3 separate regions of the Homo sapiens genome follow, and regions 2 and 3 are each linked to region 1. Evidence: promoter capture Hi-C in 16 types of primary human blood cells and fetal thymus (Javierre and others, 2016). All regions are on one chromosome and are shown on one strand. The core of a region is centred on a gene start or on the middle of the fragment in contact, and the rest is flanking DNA. Distances in the headings are between cores, read along the strand shown.

Region 1 (4,969 bases), core at 1,542-4,041:
GAAAGGACCCTTTCAGTTTATATATACAACATACGCAAGTGATACTCAAGTTTCACTTTGAAATTGTGATATAAAAACTATGTTGTTCCATCCACAGTGGCAAGATCAAAATGTTCTAGCTCCAACTCTTCAACCTTGTGCAAGCTACTTTAGTGCTCTGTGACTATAAAATGAAGAGGCTCTATCTGGGACTTTCTAGCTTTAAAATCCTATACACTGTGAATTCTATTCCATCTTTTCTACAGAAGTCACTGTGACAAGGCCAATAATAACAAAAACAGGAAAGGGTATTCTTCGTTCAACCCACACATAGTAAAAATTACCTCTCATTATACATCTACTAAGTGCCAGGCTCTTTCTACTTATTTCACTTAATCTTCATTACATCCTAAAAAGCAGGCATTTTCCTCATTTTACTTAGAGGGTATTAGCTATCTCTTACATATCCAATCCAATCAGGGGTGGAAAGCCAGGATTCAAATCAAAGTCTAACTCCACAAAGCAAGCTGTAATAAACCATATTTCATAACCTGGTGCCACAAACACAAATATCAGACAAAAAAGTGGTGGGCTGTGATTATGGTATGACTCTGGTAATCTAGACAGAACATGATCTTCTAGTAGGGTAGCTCAGGCTGCCTTGTTGCCAAGTGGGAATGGATGAGTGAAGCCAAATGTGTGCGTGTGTTACAGTGAGAGACAGAAAAGTGATTTTCAAATGAAAGAAACAGATTTACCGGCTTTCATCTTATGCTTTAAACAATTCTAACCAGACCTGCGCAGTTATTTTTTTTTTTTTTGAGATGGAGTCTCTTCATGCTGCCCAGGCTAGTCTCAAACTCCTGGGCTCAAGCGATCCTCCTGGCTTAGCATCCCCTTAGCTGGGATTATAGGCCTGTGTCACTGCGACTAGCTGCAGTTAATTTTAGTAATACTATATAAAGTTCCCAAAAAGTATTGAAATACAGGCATGAGCAATAAAGTGAAGGCTTTGAAGTAAGGTACCTCTTGGTTGAATCCTGGCTCTATTATTAGCAGTGTGACATTGGTCAAGTTACTTCACCCCTTTTTTTTTTTTTTTTTTTTGAGACAGAGTTTCGCTCTTGTTGCCCAGGCTAGAGTGCAATGGCACGATCTCTGCTCACCGTAACCTCCGCCTCCCGAGTTCAAGCGATTCTCCTGCCTCAGCCTTCCGAGTGGCTGGGATTACAGGCATGTGCCACCACGGCCGGCTAATTCTGTATTTTTAGTAGAGACGGGGTTTCTCCATGTTGGTCAGGCTGGTCTCGAACTCCCGACCTCAGGTGATCCGCCGGCCTCAGCCTCCCAAAGTGCTGGGATTAGAGGCGTGAGCCACCGCGTCCGGCCTACTTCACCCCTCTCAGTCTCATTTTTTGACTTTTAAGGTGAGAATACTCTCACCTATCTTGCAGGGTAGTTAACGATTAAAGCATAATGTGGAATATAAAGAGCTCAGCACAGAACCTAGCACAAGGTAAGAGCCTGACAAATGAAAGCTACTATATTATCCCTCAGGATCCCATTAACAAAGTTAGCCATTAAAGTGTTATACTTAGTCTCTTTTATGTAGATCTAAAATTCTTCTCAAATAAAAAGTTTATTTCAAAAAGGCATACACCCTCGATTCCATTAAACACTAACCAAACTTCAAAATAAGTGTATTCTAAACCTAGAATCTAAGCAACTATTAAATAATGTTTTCAGCGGCTAACCATTTTTTTTTTTTTTTAAATAACGCCGCAAATCATGTCATTAGGAGTTCAGGCAGAAAGCGGTGGACGTGTCCCCAAAGCAGTTTGAGCGCTTAAGATCCCTACTACGTTCAAGGTAGCATTTGCCAAATGATATATATTTGGGTGAGCCCGAAAAGCCGGATCTGAACAAATAACACCAGGCAGAACGACCGCTCTTCCAGTTGATGGGACAGGAGCAGGTGGATTTGTCCTTCAAAGAATATCGTTTTATTCTTAGCCAAATGCTCTCACCAACAGCTGGGTTTTAAACCTTCTCGCAGTTTTCCCCAACGCCCCAGTTTCAGACTGCGAGGGAGGGAGCAGGACTTCAGGCTCCTCTCGGCCAGTGCAGACGAGCGAAAGAGAAAGAGGGAGGGGCCCACGGCCCCGAGGGGCGTGGGAGGCAGTTCGGGCCAGCTCGGCCGCGCATCCGTCCCTTCCCGTGCGGTACCACCTGCGGACCACTCTCCTAGCCCGAGCTTCAGGGCCTACAGAGCTGCGGGGCGCGGCCGCCGTCAGTCCGGCCGAACGGCAGCAATGGGGACTGAGCTGGGGGCGTGATTGAATAACTCTGGGATTTCAGGAGCGGAAGGAGGGCAAAGGGGGAGGCGGCATGTGGATGCCCCCTCCATGGTGGGACGCTGGAGGTGACCTTCGGGTCTCCGAGTGCTCCGTCCCCGTCCCTGCCCGGACCCCTTCCCAAGTCCCAGACCCGCTGCTCCTCTCACCGTCTCGGCTTCTGTGTGCTGGGGTCCGGCACTCTGACCCCCCATTACCCCGCGGAGGAAATTCATCTTGCCGTTCAGCCACCAGGTTTACCGGCCCCTCCGGAAAAAAAAGAAGACAACTTCCCCCGCCCTCCGCAGGGCCTGGGCCCCAATCCCGCACTCTACACACTCCTACTGCTGCCACCACCGCCTCCAACTCGGCGGCCACTCCAGCCCTCTAAGCCCGGAAACAGCCGCCAGCAGCGGCCAAGATGCGCATGCGCGGGGACGTGGCATTACGTGGCGGCTCGAAGGTTGAAGGCAAAAGGGGAGCGGAGGCGAGAGGAACCTCTTAGCTAGGTTCCGCCGAAGCCCCACCCACTGCGCAGACCCCGCCTCCCACCGCAGGGGCACGCCTCCTACCCCCACCCTTCGCGGATTGATCCTGCTGGCCGCAGCCACCCACGTGGTGGAAGCCCGGCCCTGCAGGCTGGAGAGGATTTGATTAGACTACGCGTTTCGACTTGCAGGGTGTTTAATCGTCGCCAAGCGGGACTTACTGCAAGCTATCAAATCTGAGGTCTTATTTTGTTGAGTCGAAAGTGAAATTTTCCTTTGGCCAACGTGACAGGTAAGGCTTCCTGGCGCCTGAGAGGGTTCGCTTGGTTTGACGGTTTACTGGTACCAGCATTGTGGCTTTCTGATCCCGGTAAATTGCATTTCTTTACAGGGCTTTGTTTGGTGGTAAAAAGGGTTACTAGACACCCCTCATTCCACTGCCACTGGAGGGCGCATTTCTCAGCTCTTGCTCTTCAAACCTGCTGAAAGGAATTCCTAGATCTAAACACCAGGTACACCTCTATTTTCAAGTGTCGTCAGGAGGAAACCCATCAAACCCTACATTTAGCTTACTAGAGAAATACATTGTTCTGCTGTGTCAGTTTGGCGAGTAACATAATGTTTCGTTATTAACTCTCAACCCCTGTGTTTTCAGTTTTTTTTTTTTTAACATGAAAAATTGTCATTTTCTCTAATTGGTATGCCTGTTCCTTTGGCAGTGAGGTTGTCAGTACACATGCTTCTGGAATAGTCTTGTAAATTTCTTGAGGCTAAAAAGCACAGGTCTAGTTAGCTAACTGACTCATGCACCTCTCCCCTTGGATTCCCCACAGGTCTCAGATTCAGCATTTAAAATTGAACTCGTCATCTTTCCCTGCCTCCCTTAAAGAAAAAAAGTCAATATGCTGCTTCTACTGTGTGCGTGCCGTGCTCAGTAGTACCACTGTCCAAATAATTGCCTAAGCTAGACAGAGGAAGCTGGGAAGAATCTTAGACTCTGGCTTTCCACCCACACATGTCCAATCAATAGTCATGTCCTATCATTTCTATTTATAGAATATTTCTCAAATAGGTGTTCTGCTCTCCATCCTCTGTGCCTGTGACATAGATTATGTTCTTCTCATCATTTCTCATTGAGATGACAGCAACAGCCTCCTAATTAGTTTGTCTGCATTCAGCCCTGGCTTCCTTCCAGTCCAATCTCCAGTCCATCCTTGGGTGAGACTAACAACAACAAAACATCTGTTCATGTCATTCCTCTTAAAATCCTCCAGTTGTTCCCCATTCTGTCCAGAATAAAGTGCAAACTCCTTAGTTTGTCATACAGGCCTGTTATGATTTAGCTCCTGCCTACTTTTTCAGCTCCTGCCTCCCCCACATACTCTGGGCATTTTTCTCAGACCTGGATATGCCCTTCCCTTCCTTTCTCTTCATCAAGCAAACTCCTGCTAATTCCTTAAGGCTCAACTCTGACATCATTCTTGAAAGCTTTCCCTAAAATGTAGGTACACATCTATATGTTAGCACTTTGCAGTTATTGATACTGTATATGGTGTACATTGAATAAATGCTTGCTAAACCAAACTGTTAAGGGCAGGACTATGTTATTCATTTTATATCTCTGTTGCTTACCACTGTCTCATAAAAGGTGATATTGATGGATAAATGAATAAATTATTGAAAGAATATATGAATATTATACTAAGAGGAGGTTCCCTTTTTTTAATCTGTAAAGTGAAATTGTAGGGAAGACATCATAAGCTATGTGTTTCCTAGTGCCAACATTTTAAGCCTGGGCAACTTGGAGAATGGTGGGGTCATACTGCCAAAAATACTGTGCGCTAAGCATTGTCCTCTGCTTTAAAGCTATACACTTGACATTTTACCGTAGACATTTTCCATGGGAGCATTTTGTTGCAGCCTAAAAAAAGTAACCAGTAAATTACTCAGCATTTTTGTTACTAAGAAATGCATGCAAAGAACTTCACTTAAGCCCCTAAGCCTCACCCCTCCCTGAACCTCACTTCACCTTGTCCCTGAAACTCACTCTACCCCATCATCAGGAATGAGGCTCATAGACGGAGTGGGCCACAAATGTCTATTACTCCTCTTATTTAATAATTAAAAAGAGTGCCTTGACATTTTAGCAAAGTTGTTTAAAGGCACCAG
Region 2 (4,969 bases), core at 1,405-3,904, 1.4 Mb before region 1:
GGGGTCCACCCACCCGGCCCAGCAAGATCAGATAGCCACACTGAGGTTTGCAGCAGGAGAAAGGAAAACATTTATTTGCGGGGCACCAAAGAAGGATCAGGCATCTAAGACTTAAATCCCAATTTCCCAGATGGTTTACAGGTAAGAGTTTTTAAAGGCAGAAAGGCAGAGGTTACAGGCGAAGTCAGAAATCAATACATAGAGACTATACATTGGTTTGACCTAAAAAGGCAAGGCATCTCGAAGTGGGGGTGGATTCAAAGACTTTCTAGTGTGCGATTGGTTAAGGAGATGACGTTTTGTCTCAACATTTGAAATCTACAGAAAAAAATGTAATCTCTGGCTCATGGGCATGACCTCCTCCAGGCCTCTCAGGAAGAAATTTAGAACAAAGAACGGTGGTCAGAGTTCAGTCCTCAGCTCCCTCTTATCTGAGGTCTATGTGCTAGCGCATCCATTTGCTAGGGGTTCAGGTTTCTGGAAAACAACTCAGGGATATATATTAAGATGTTATCTGTAGTTTCTATAGGGGAACCAAACATCCCATGATTCTAACTTACTTGGCTATTGTTTTGAGCCGCTATTTGTTGCTTATCACATTTCTCTCTTACTTCTCAGGGCTAGCCAGATGCCTGGAATTTCTCTTGGAAGAACTCACGATTTTTTTTTTAATTTCCATGTTTGGGAGTAGGGAACAGGCCCCTAAGAGGGGTCTCTGACTCATCTCAGATGTAGTGGGCCTGGGAAATACGTGGATGTGGATGCCATGAAACAAGGCTGAAAAGGGAGCCGGGAACAAATCAAGCTGGGTCTTCTAAGCCGCAGTACGAAGTTGGAACTTGATGCTAAGGTGTGGTGAGAGCCATGAATTTTAATTAGAGGAAGCATATAACCAGCGTGTGTGTTTTAAAGTTCATTCTTTATTCTGTTAATACACTAATAATTCAAATCAATTTTAGGAAAAAAAGGAAACTACAGATAGGCATAACTTAAAAAAAACATCACCTGTAATCTCACCAGAGATAATCACCATTTGACCATAAATAACAAGCAATCTGTCTCACTTATCTATTACTGTTTAACAACCCTCCCCCAAAACCTCGTGGCTTAAAACAATAATTTGTTATTTCTAGTGAGTCTGTGGGTTGATTGGGATCGACTGAGTAGTTCCTCTGTTTTCTGTGGTGTAGCTGAGGATACACCCACATTCAGCTGGGAGCTTAAGGCTGGAACATCCAAGATAATCTCTCATCCTCAAGAGTCTCTCTCCACATGGCCTCTCATCTTTCAGTAATCCAGCTGAGCTTCTTTGCAGCATGGTGGCTAGCTTCCAAAAAGGATAAAAGGAAAGCTGCCAGTCTCTTAAAGCCTAGGCTTGGACATATACTAAATTTCTTCTGCTGCACTTCAGTAAGCAAAGCCATTCATAAGGCCAGCCAAAACTCAAGAGAAACAGACTCCACTTGTGGACGGGAAGAGCAGCATGTAGGCACAGGGATGGAAAGACTGACTGGCCATCATACTGGGAAACTATCTATCACACAATTTGATTTGCTAAACACAAAGTAAGTTATTGACCATTTCTGGTAGTAAATAGTTAGGAAAACTGAATTCCAGTAACAAATGCAAAATACCTTGTCCTTGTCCATATATGAATCTAAGTGGGTTGTCTCAATAAGCTGACAATTTGCATGTGTGATGAGGGAGGAGGGAGGTGGGAGGTAGCAGGAACACCATATTGAAACCTAGTGTTGAAATAAAAGAAATTGTAAAAAAGAAAAAGGCAGACTCTAGACAAAGAAAATGGTTAAAATTGTCACGAGGAGTGTTCTGAAGCCAATGCCTCTCTACAGTTAACCTGAGTATGTATTAATCCTGAGTGTGACAGGTAATTAAAACACATTATTTGTCTAACCACACTTCCTGGGAGGAGGAAACAGTAGCAGAGCCAAACAGATGAAGACCCAGGACCTAGGCACAATACTTCACCATGCGCAACAGCAAAGTGCGTGCACCACATCCTAGAAAATGACAGGATCAAAACCTGAAAGGTCAAATCTCTCGCCAAGTCAACGGGGGTAAGGATGAGGACAAAATGGTAGCTTTCTCCTCACCCTCTGCTCTGAAAAGGGCAGGGGCTTCTCAATTTTATTCATCACAGTCATGGGAAAGCCACCTGGTTGAATGGCACAGGAGGGTATAACCAGGCTCCTGGACTTGTCTGTGAGCCTCCTAATAATGCCCAAAGAGAAAGGATAGCGCTTCTCAATTTTCACCTCTCTTCCTCATCCACACTTCCACTGCCTTAGTTCAGTCAGACTGGTCTCCATGCTGCTACTCTATATTGCCCAGTTCATCTTCTGTATAGCTAACAGAGTTCTTTCTCAATACACATTTTTTAAGGTCTAGGAAATGACAAGAAAAAAAGGCCAGAGACAGGTGCAGTGTTCAGATTAGACAGAGACTTGTATGTCATGAATAGATTTTTCTCCTGATTGTGCGTGACCTACTCAACAATTTTTCAGGAGATAGTTAAAATTTTATTTTAAAAGGATATGTAGATAGGAAGGCAGAGACCAGGAGTAAGCCTGGAAGCTGAGGGATCACAAATATATTACAGTACCTCTGCTGATAAAGAGTACAGGTCTAAACCATGCCAATGGCAGAAAAAGGGGGGACAGAGAGATATAAACAGTGTAAACGAAATCATACAAATGATAGAGGCTGGTGACCTCCATAAACAGGCAAAAGGAGATGAGCATATCACCTAAGTTTCCAACATGAATAGATGGAATTATTCGCTGAGAAAGACATAAAGAACCAGCAGGTTTGGGAGTAATCAGAAACCTCCAAGTGGCATGGCAGGCCATGTGAATAAACAGGTTGCAAGCTCAGCAGAGAGGTCTCGACTAAATACACTGAAAACCACAGGGGGAAGAGATGAAGCCACAAAGATGCTTACCCAGGAAAAATATCCAGTAAGAAAAGCAATACAATCCTGCAGGAGCTAAAGAGAGTCTTGAGATTTGGTAAGCCCCAAACAACTTTTACATCTCAACAAATCAAAATCTGAAAGCAGAATATATTGCCCACTATTTACTAATATTATTTAGTAAGAGAGGAAAGGTCATCCTCAAGTAGGATTCTCCACTAGAAGGGTAGGAAAACATACCCCTATCTCCAGAGAAGAGGTGTTACATGAAAACCATATTCAGTGTACCTGATTTTCTAACTAGAGAAAACAAAGGTCTACAAAAATCAAACTAGACAGATGGGGAACCTATTGGGGTGGGGCAGGGGAAAGGACCACCACTTGCAAAACCACCTGATACTTTTGAGGTCCACAAGAGCCAGAAGCTGGCGGGGCCCTATCACAGCGAACACCCCATACTTATTAACCAAACAACTGATTAAAACTTGCTTTGTCTCCTGAAAGATCGTTCTAATCTGCCAACCTGAGCATTCTGTTCTACTTAATACCTGTTGCCTCTCACTGAAAATTAATAGGCATTCTGGTAATATACCAGTCTCTGAGAGCATACTTAATGAGTCCATCCCACAAAGAGGTCAATTGTCAAATGACAGATTCTCTTTCAGTATCTCCAAGGCACAGATGCCAAACCTAGAGAACTTCTGCTAGCCAGTTAGAAGGCTCACTCTGGAATCACTGTAGCCTCACCTAAAGTCTTCTCATTAAAATACATCAAGAACTTTTAACAGATTAAAAATTAAGATGTGATCCCAAACAAGGAGAATTCATTAATAATTTTATTTTGAATTACAATCTATTATCACTTCAAAAAGAGCCACTTCAGAAAACATCCAACGGATGTTGACTTACCAGTAAAAATGTAAGTCATCAATGTATGATTTATACTACAGAATACATAATAAATTATATTTACATGCAATGACTAGACTATCACACACAAGGTAAAAAAATACAGTATTTTATGTACATTTTAAAAGATTTACATGTTCATATACAATTTATAAAGTTAAAAATTCTCTGTACAAAATCTTACATGTACAGAGTTTATATAAGCCCCATTCTTATGGCTGTATCACCACACAGATTTGCTTAAAACTATAATACTACAAACACTCGGGTTCTTCATATTCAATCTTGGCACCCATATAGCAATACACTATTCTGAAATGTAAATTACAAAGGAAATAAAATGTAATCATGCAGACATTTTTTAATATAAGAAAATGCGATAAAATATACTACACCAGATCAACATTTATCAATTCCATAGATACTGAGTTTTCAACTTACTGCACTGTTTTCATATAAGTACATGCAAAACTAGCAGATTATGGATTTTTAAAGTAACATTAAAATAATACCATAGTTTGACAATACTTGGGCAATAGGAATGAAAACTAAGAGCCCTAGCCTAATTATTTCTGCCTTAACAGAAATCTCAATTAAGACATTACATATATAAAAATCACAGAAATGTCAATATTATAATTCCCAAATTTATAAGATCTGCATCACATCAAATAGACACTGATCATTTAAAAAACAAAACAACAAAAATGTGTTTGACATTTAAGAGCATACTCACTCTTCTGAGAAGGGGGGAGGGTGAAATCTATGATAAACCATTAAGGATTATCCACTGTCCCTGCTAAGGAAGCACTTGCATACTTCCAATCTGCTTAAAGACATCTGAAGGTTTTATAAAATGTTTAAGATAAGCTACACTAGTTATTTTTAAAAATCTTGAAAAGTAACAAATTGAAGGTATCAGCACCTTCCCTCCTCCCCAAAGTAGCTAAAGATCTACGAGAAAAATAAAGTGCCAATGTCTAAAGTACTGTTAATGGTTTAAGAGGCACTACCCCATTTGATGGCTTAGGATAAATATGAAAATAGGCCAGATCTGATCTGAATAACAAATAGAAGGTAGGTATTCCAGTATATTAATTCCTGACTAGATGGGGGCTAAACCAGGAA
Region 3 (4,969 bases), core at 2,470-4,969, 1.4 Mb before region 1:
CTTAAACCCGGGATATGGAGGTTGCAGTGAACTGAGATTGCACCATTGCACTCCAGCCTGGGTGACAAGAGAGAGACTCTGTTTCAAAAAAAAAAAAAAGTGAATTAAAGTATGGTCTTACAAATGGATACTGAAGAACAAGAATGTCCATATTGGCTGTGCACAGTGGCTCATGCATGTCATCCCAGCACTTTGGGAGGCTGACGTAGCTGGATTGCTTGAGCTCTGGCATTCGAGATCAGCCTGGGCAACATGACAAAACCCCGTCTGTACAAAAAATACAAAAGTTAGCTGGGCATGGTGGTGCACACCTGTATTCCCAGCTAGTTAGAAGTCTGAGGTGGAAGGATCGCTTGAGCCTAGGAAGTTGAGGCTGCAGTGAGCTGAGATCGCACCACTGCAACCTGGGTGACAGGGTGAGACCTTGTCTCAAAGGAAAAAAAAAAAAGAAAGAAAATATCCATACTTTTTGTTCAGACAACTGCAACTAGTTACTTACCCACCTATTAATTACTTGTAATTATATTTATAGTAGATTAAATTGTCACTGGCAATCTCATAGGCAGTAAGATAGTTTTAATAAGGATAAGTATATAATTAAATGGGAGCTCTTAAAGACTCCTGGTAACATTTTAATTGGTTTAATCTTCTGCCTTGCAACTGGCAACTGGTATTCAGTAAAAGCCATAAAAACATAATATTGTTGGACCTAGGAATAGCCCCAAAGAGGTTATGAAGATGTTAATTGAATTATTTTTGTTTTTCATTTTTTGGGTAGCAGCTTTATTATAATTCAAACACCATAGAAGTAATACATTTAAAGTGTACAATTCAATGGTTTTTAGTACAGGTTGCATATCCCTGATACAAAAATCTGAAATGCTCCAAAATCCAAAGCTTTTTGAGTGCCAACATGACACTCAGAGGAAATGCTCATTTTGGATTTTCAGACTAGGTTGCTCAACCAGTAAGTATATAATTTAATGCAAACATTTCCAAAACTGAAAAAAAAGTTTAAAATTCAAAATACTTCTGGTCTCAAATATTTTGGATAATACTCAACCTAAATATTCACAGTTGCGCAACCATCAACACAATCAATCTCAGAACATTTTTCTCACCTCAAAAAGAAACCTTCAAAAAATCAGTTGGGCATGGAGGCATGCGCCTGTGGTTCCAGCTACACAGGAGGCTGAGGCAGGAGGATTGCTTGATCCTGGAGGTCAAGGCTACAGTGAGTCATGTTCACACCATTGCACTCCAGCCTGCAGCCTGGGGGACAGAGCAAGGCCCTGTTTCCAAAAAAAAAAAAAAGAAAAAAAGAAAAGAAAAAAAGAAAGAAACCCCCATATCATTTAACTATCATCCCCTAATCCCATGCCTGCCCCTAGCCCTAAGCAACCACTTCCTTACTTTCTGTCTCTATATATTTGCCTATTCTGGACATTCACGTAAGTGGAATCATATAATATGTGGTCTTTTGTGACTGGCTTCTTTCATTTAGCATACTGCTTTCAAAGGTTATGCATGTTATAGCATGTATTAGTATTTTCTTTTTATGGCCCAATAAGATTCCATTGTATAGGTCGGTGTGACGGCTCATGCCTGTAATCCCATCACTTTCAGGCTAAGGAGGGAGAATTGCTAGAGGCCAGGAGTTTGAGACCAGCCTGGACAACATAGGAAGTCTCATGGCACCCCCATCTGCGCCACGGAGCCAGACCCCATCTCTTAAAAATAAAAATTTGATTGTACATAGATGTATCACATTTGATTTATACAGGCGCCAGCTGATGAACATTTAGGTTGTTTCATCTTTGGCTATTATGAATAATGCTAACGTTTGTAAAAAAGTTTTTGCATGGACAAATATTTTCCTTTCTCTTGGGTATATATTTAGGAGTGGAATTTGCATTATTCTTATTGGAGTGAAAATCAGAAGCAATTTCATGGTCTAACAATGGAATTATGTTACACTCTCAATAGTATTATGCAGAAATGCTACAGTCTCAAGAGTAACATGCAGAAAAATGGTGGCTTTTTTGAATGAAGACCATATAATAATAGGCTACATGAAGTGAAAAAAAGAAAAAAAAAGGATACAACCCACTTGAAATCCTCCTAGGGCTTCCCATTCCTTCTTCTGTTCTATGGCATCTGTCCTCTGCTTCCACATCCTGCCTCAGTTGTCTGAGGGCCAGCCACACTAGCTTTCAGAGATTTTTAGAACGTCTCAGCTTCGGAGCCTTTTCACATAACTTCCTCTGCTTGTATCATTCTTTGCCCAGTGGTTTCAAGTCTCATCTTAAATGTCACTTCTTCAGAAAAACCTTCTCTGATATCCCAAACCAGGCGGAAAGGCAAGCGTTTCCACAGCAGCCGGCGATTTTCCATCTTAACGGTTTTAATACCAGAATTGTTTACTTGGTCAAATATTGAGAGCCTTTTATACACAGGGATAGAGGGTGAAACATGCAAGATCCCTGCCGCCTGCGACCTTATATTCTAGGGAGGGGATACATGCACAAGTAAACAAGTAAATGTACTTGGTAATTTTACATAGTGATAATTAGCTCAATGGTTATCCTCTGTTTGGACTGTAAACTCCATGAAGGCAGGAGCTATGTCTGTCTTGGCTACTTCCAGTTTGCTGAGTCTGGCCACTAAATAAACTCAACACATATTTTTTCACTGACAGTTAAAATAACTATATAAAAAACAAATGGAAAAAACAAACGAGACTTCTATAAATGGTTGAGATCTAGCTCTTCCTCTTTCAAAACTCTGTAATACTACATATTTTTAAATAATTAAAACAATCAAAATAGCAAAAAGTTACCGTTTGTACTAACAGAACCCCAAATAAAACCCATTTATGTCACCACACATTCTTTAAGCACCTGGTAATAAAACCTATTCGGAAATACTCAGACGTGTTGGTTGAGTGGATAAAATCCCCTTGCCACATTGCCAAGCAGGTTCCTCGCCGTCAGCAGTATAATTTACAGTGTTTCACTGAGGCCTTAAGCACCCATGATTTGATTCTCCCTAATTTTCCGATTCCTAAAACCCTTTAGAATCTCCCTCCACCCACACAATGTGGCAGTGAGAAAAACCGCAATTCTATTTACATGTCAACGGTAAGAACACGTAATACTTTGCTAGGTCAACAAATCTGCAAGATCTCCACCCAAGAGATCAGTAGCCCCTTCCCAGTGAATCCTTCTAAGAGCCTGGGGACGAGTAGGGCTAGATAAAACCAAGCTGCTGTAAAGCTGGACCACAGGAGCGGATCGTGAAATCCCCTCCCCCAAGCGCAGCGCTCGGCCGCTTCTTTCTTCCCCAGGCGCATGCGCAGCGCACTCTCCGGCCACCGCACGCCCCCTCAGTGGGGGCCCAGAGACGCTGACGTCACCGTGCGGTCTGCAAGCAACCCTTCCGCTCCTTCAAGGAAAATGAGTCCACGGACCTTCGGCTTTTCTTAGCCACGAGAAAACGTCCTCCCTCCTTCCATCCTAGTGCCAACGACTTCCCCAGCCCGTCTCCTTTCGGCCGCACTTCTCTGTACTTTCGTTGGACCGGGAAGGCGGCGGGGAGGAACAGGAAGGGTGAAAGACCAAGTCCGCGTAGTTTACAAGGAGTGGGCGAGTCTAGGAATCGGTCCGCGAGGGCGGAGCCGAGGAAGCCGGCACTTCTTCCTCCCTTCCCCTCTCTTCCCCTCCCTCCCCAGCCTTCCCCGCGAGCGGACGCGGCAGCGCCTCTGTCTCGCTTTTTCTTATTTTTCCCCCCTTTCCCCTTTCTTTTTTTTTTTTTCTTTTCTTTTCTCCCCTCCCCCCCTTTCACCATTTCCCCTCGGAGGCGCTTTCCCCGGGCAGGGGCAGAGCCGGTCTCACCCCCCGCCTCTCCCCGGCCCCCGCCGCCCTATGGCGAGAGGGAGCCCCCTCCCAACCCGGGCTCGAGCGGCGGCGGCCTCAGGCCGGGGGTCATCATGGAACTAATTCGCTGACCGACCCAGCGGCCGCAGCCGTGCGTCCCGCTCGAGCGCCAGCGCCCGCGCCCGCGCCCCCCGATCCGCTTCCCCTTTCTCCCTCCTCAGTTGGCCGAGTCGTCCCGCGCGCACCGCCTCCGCGCGCCTATGAGAATGAGGTGGTAACGGGCCCCCGGATGACCCCGCGTCACCACTGTGAGGCCTACAGCTCTGCCGGGGAGGAGGAGGAGGAGGAAGAGGAGGAGAAGGTGAGGGGCGGGGGCGGGGGCGGGGGCTCGACGCGTCTCCGCGGCCGGCGTCGACGCGCTGGGGCCCCGCTGCTCCCCCCGCGCCGCCCCCGTGGCAGCGCCCTTGGCCGCGCGCTGCTCGCCGGAGACCCACCCTCCCGCATCCCCCAGCCCGGGGAACCTCGGGGCCGCCCTCTTCGTCCTCTCCGGCCCAGACAGACCCGTCACCTGCCCACTTGAAAACGGCACTACTGTGTTCCTTTTCGGGCCAGTTTTTCTGTCAGCGAGTAACTTTTTTTTGTGGCAGCGGCAAATTAGCTACTCTATAGTGCGTGTTGGAGGCTCTACGAGCCCGTGTTAATACACAAAGAAGGGGACACACCCCCACCCTCAGGTTGAACGATTCTCCGGGGACACCAGGAGGATTACTAACTTTGCACGGCAGACTGAATGCCAAATGAATGGGGTGAACCTCCGGTGCTGTGAAATTCGGGGGAGGGCAACGTTACCCAGGGCTTGGGGCGGGTGGGTGGGGGGAATCCGGGGGAGGTGAGATTTGAGTTGTGCTCTAAAGGCTAGATTAAATAACTGGAATTTGAAAGGAGGACAGAGGAGCCTCCGCTGGAGCTAGGGGGCTCCGTTACAGATCCTTTTGGCAGAAGTTGACAATTGGGTATCAAAACAGTGGAAGGTGTTTCGGGAGGTAGGATGGATTCAGACTCTGAAGGGGTTTGAACTAAAATGTTTATGTTTT

What was found. Contacts are between HindIII fragments. The CHiCAGO score rates a contact against its expected background, and 5 or more counts as called.
Region 2: a contact is called between a fragment that was not itself captured here and the fragment with the promoter of USO1 in region 1, in 1 of 17 cell types (neutrophils). The highest score is 5.0, in neutrophils.
Region 3: a contact is called between the fragment with the promoter of CCNI here and the fragment with the promoter of USO1 in region 1, in 1 of 17 cell types (neutrophils). The highest score is 6.7, in neutrophils.

What each region holds. Positions count from the first base shown.
Region 1 is chr4:75,722,399-75,727,367 of GRCh38, reverse strand. USO1 (USO1 vesicle transport factor) reads right to left here and starts at 2,791. Exons shown (of 24, transcript NM_003715.4): 1 at 2,483-2,791. The coding sequence starts at 2,548. It also overlaps a transcript of G3BP2 not described here. RefSeq lists silencers at 2,323-2,500, 2,835-3,004 and enhancers at 2,585-2,664, 1,761-2,680, 2,681-3,601. The HindIII fragment of the contact is 5,085 bases long and covers 1-4,290 here.
Region 2 is chr4:77,165,992-77,170,960 of GRCh38, reverse strand. It overlaps CCNG2 (cyclin G2), which reads right to left. Exons shown (of 8, transcript NM_004354.3): 8 at 901-4,969. Among named protein-coding and RNA genes, the nearest start is that of CCNG2, 11 kb to the right of the region's middle. The HindIII fragment of the contact is 8,657 bases long and covers 1-4,969 here.
Region 3 is chr4:77,074,739-77,079,707 of GRCh38, reverse strand. CCNI (cyclin I) reads left to right here and starts at 3,719. Exons shown (of 7, transcript NM_006835.3): 1 at 3,719-4,236. RefSeq lists enhancers at 2,553-3,523, 3,422-3,651 and silencers at 3,832-4,181, 4,242-4,391. The HindIII fragment of the contact is 6,616 bases long and covers 900-4,969 here.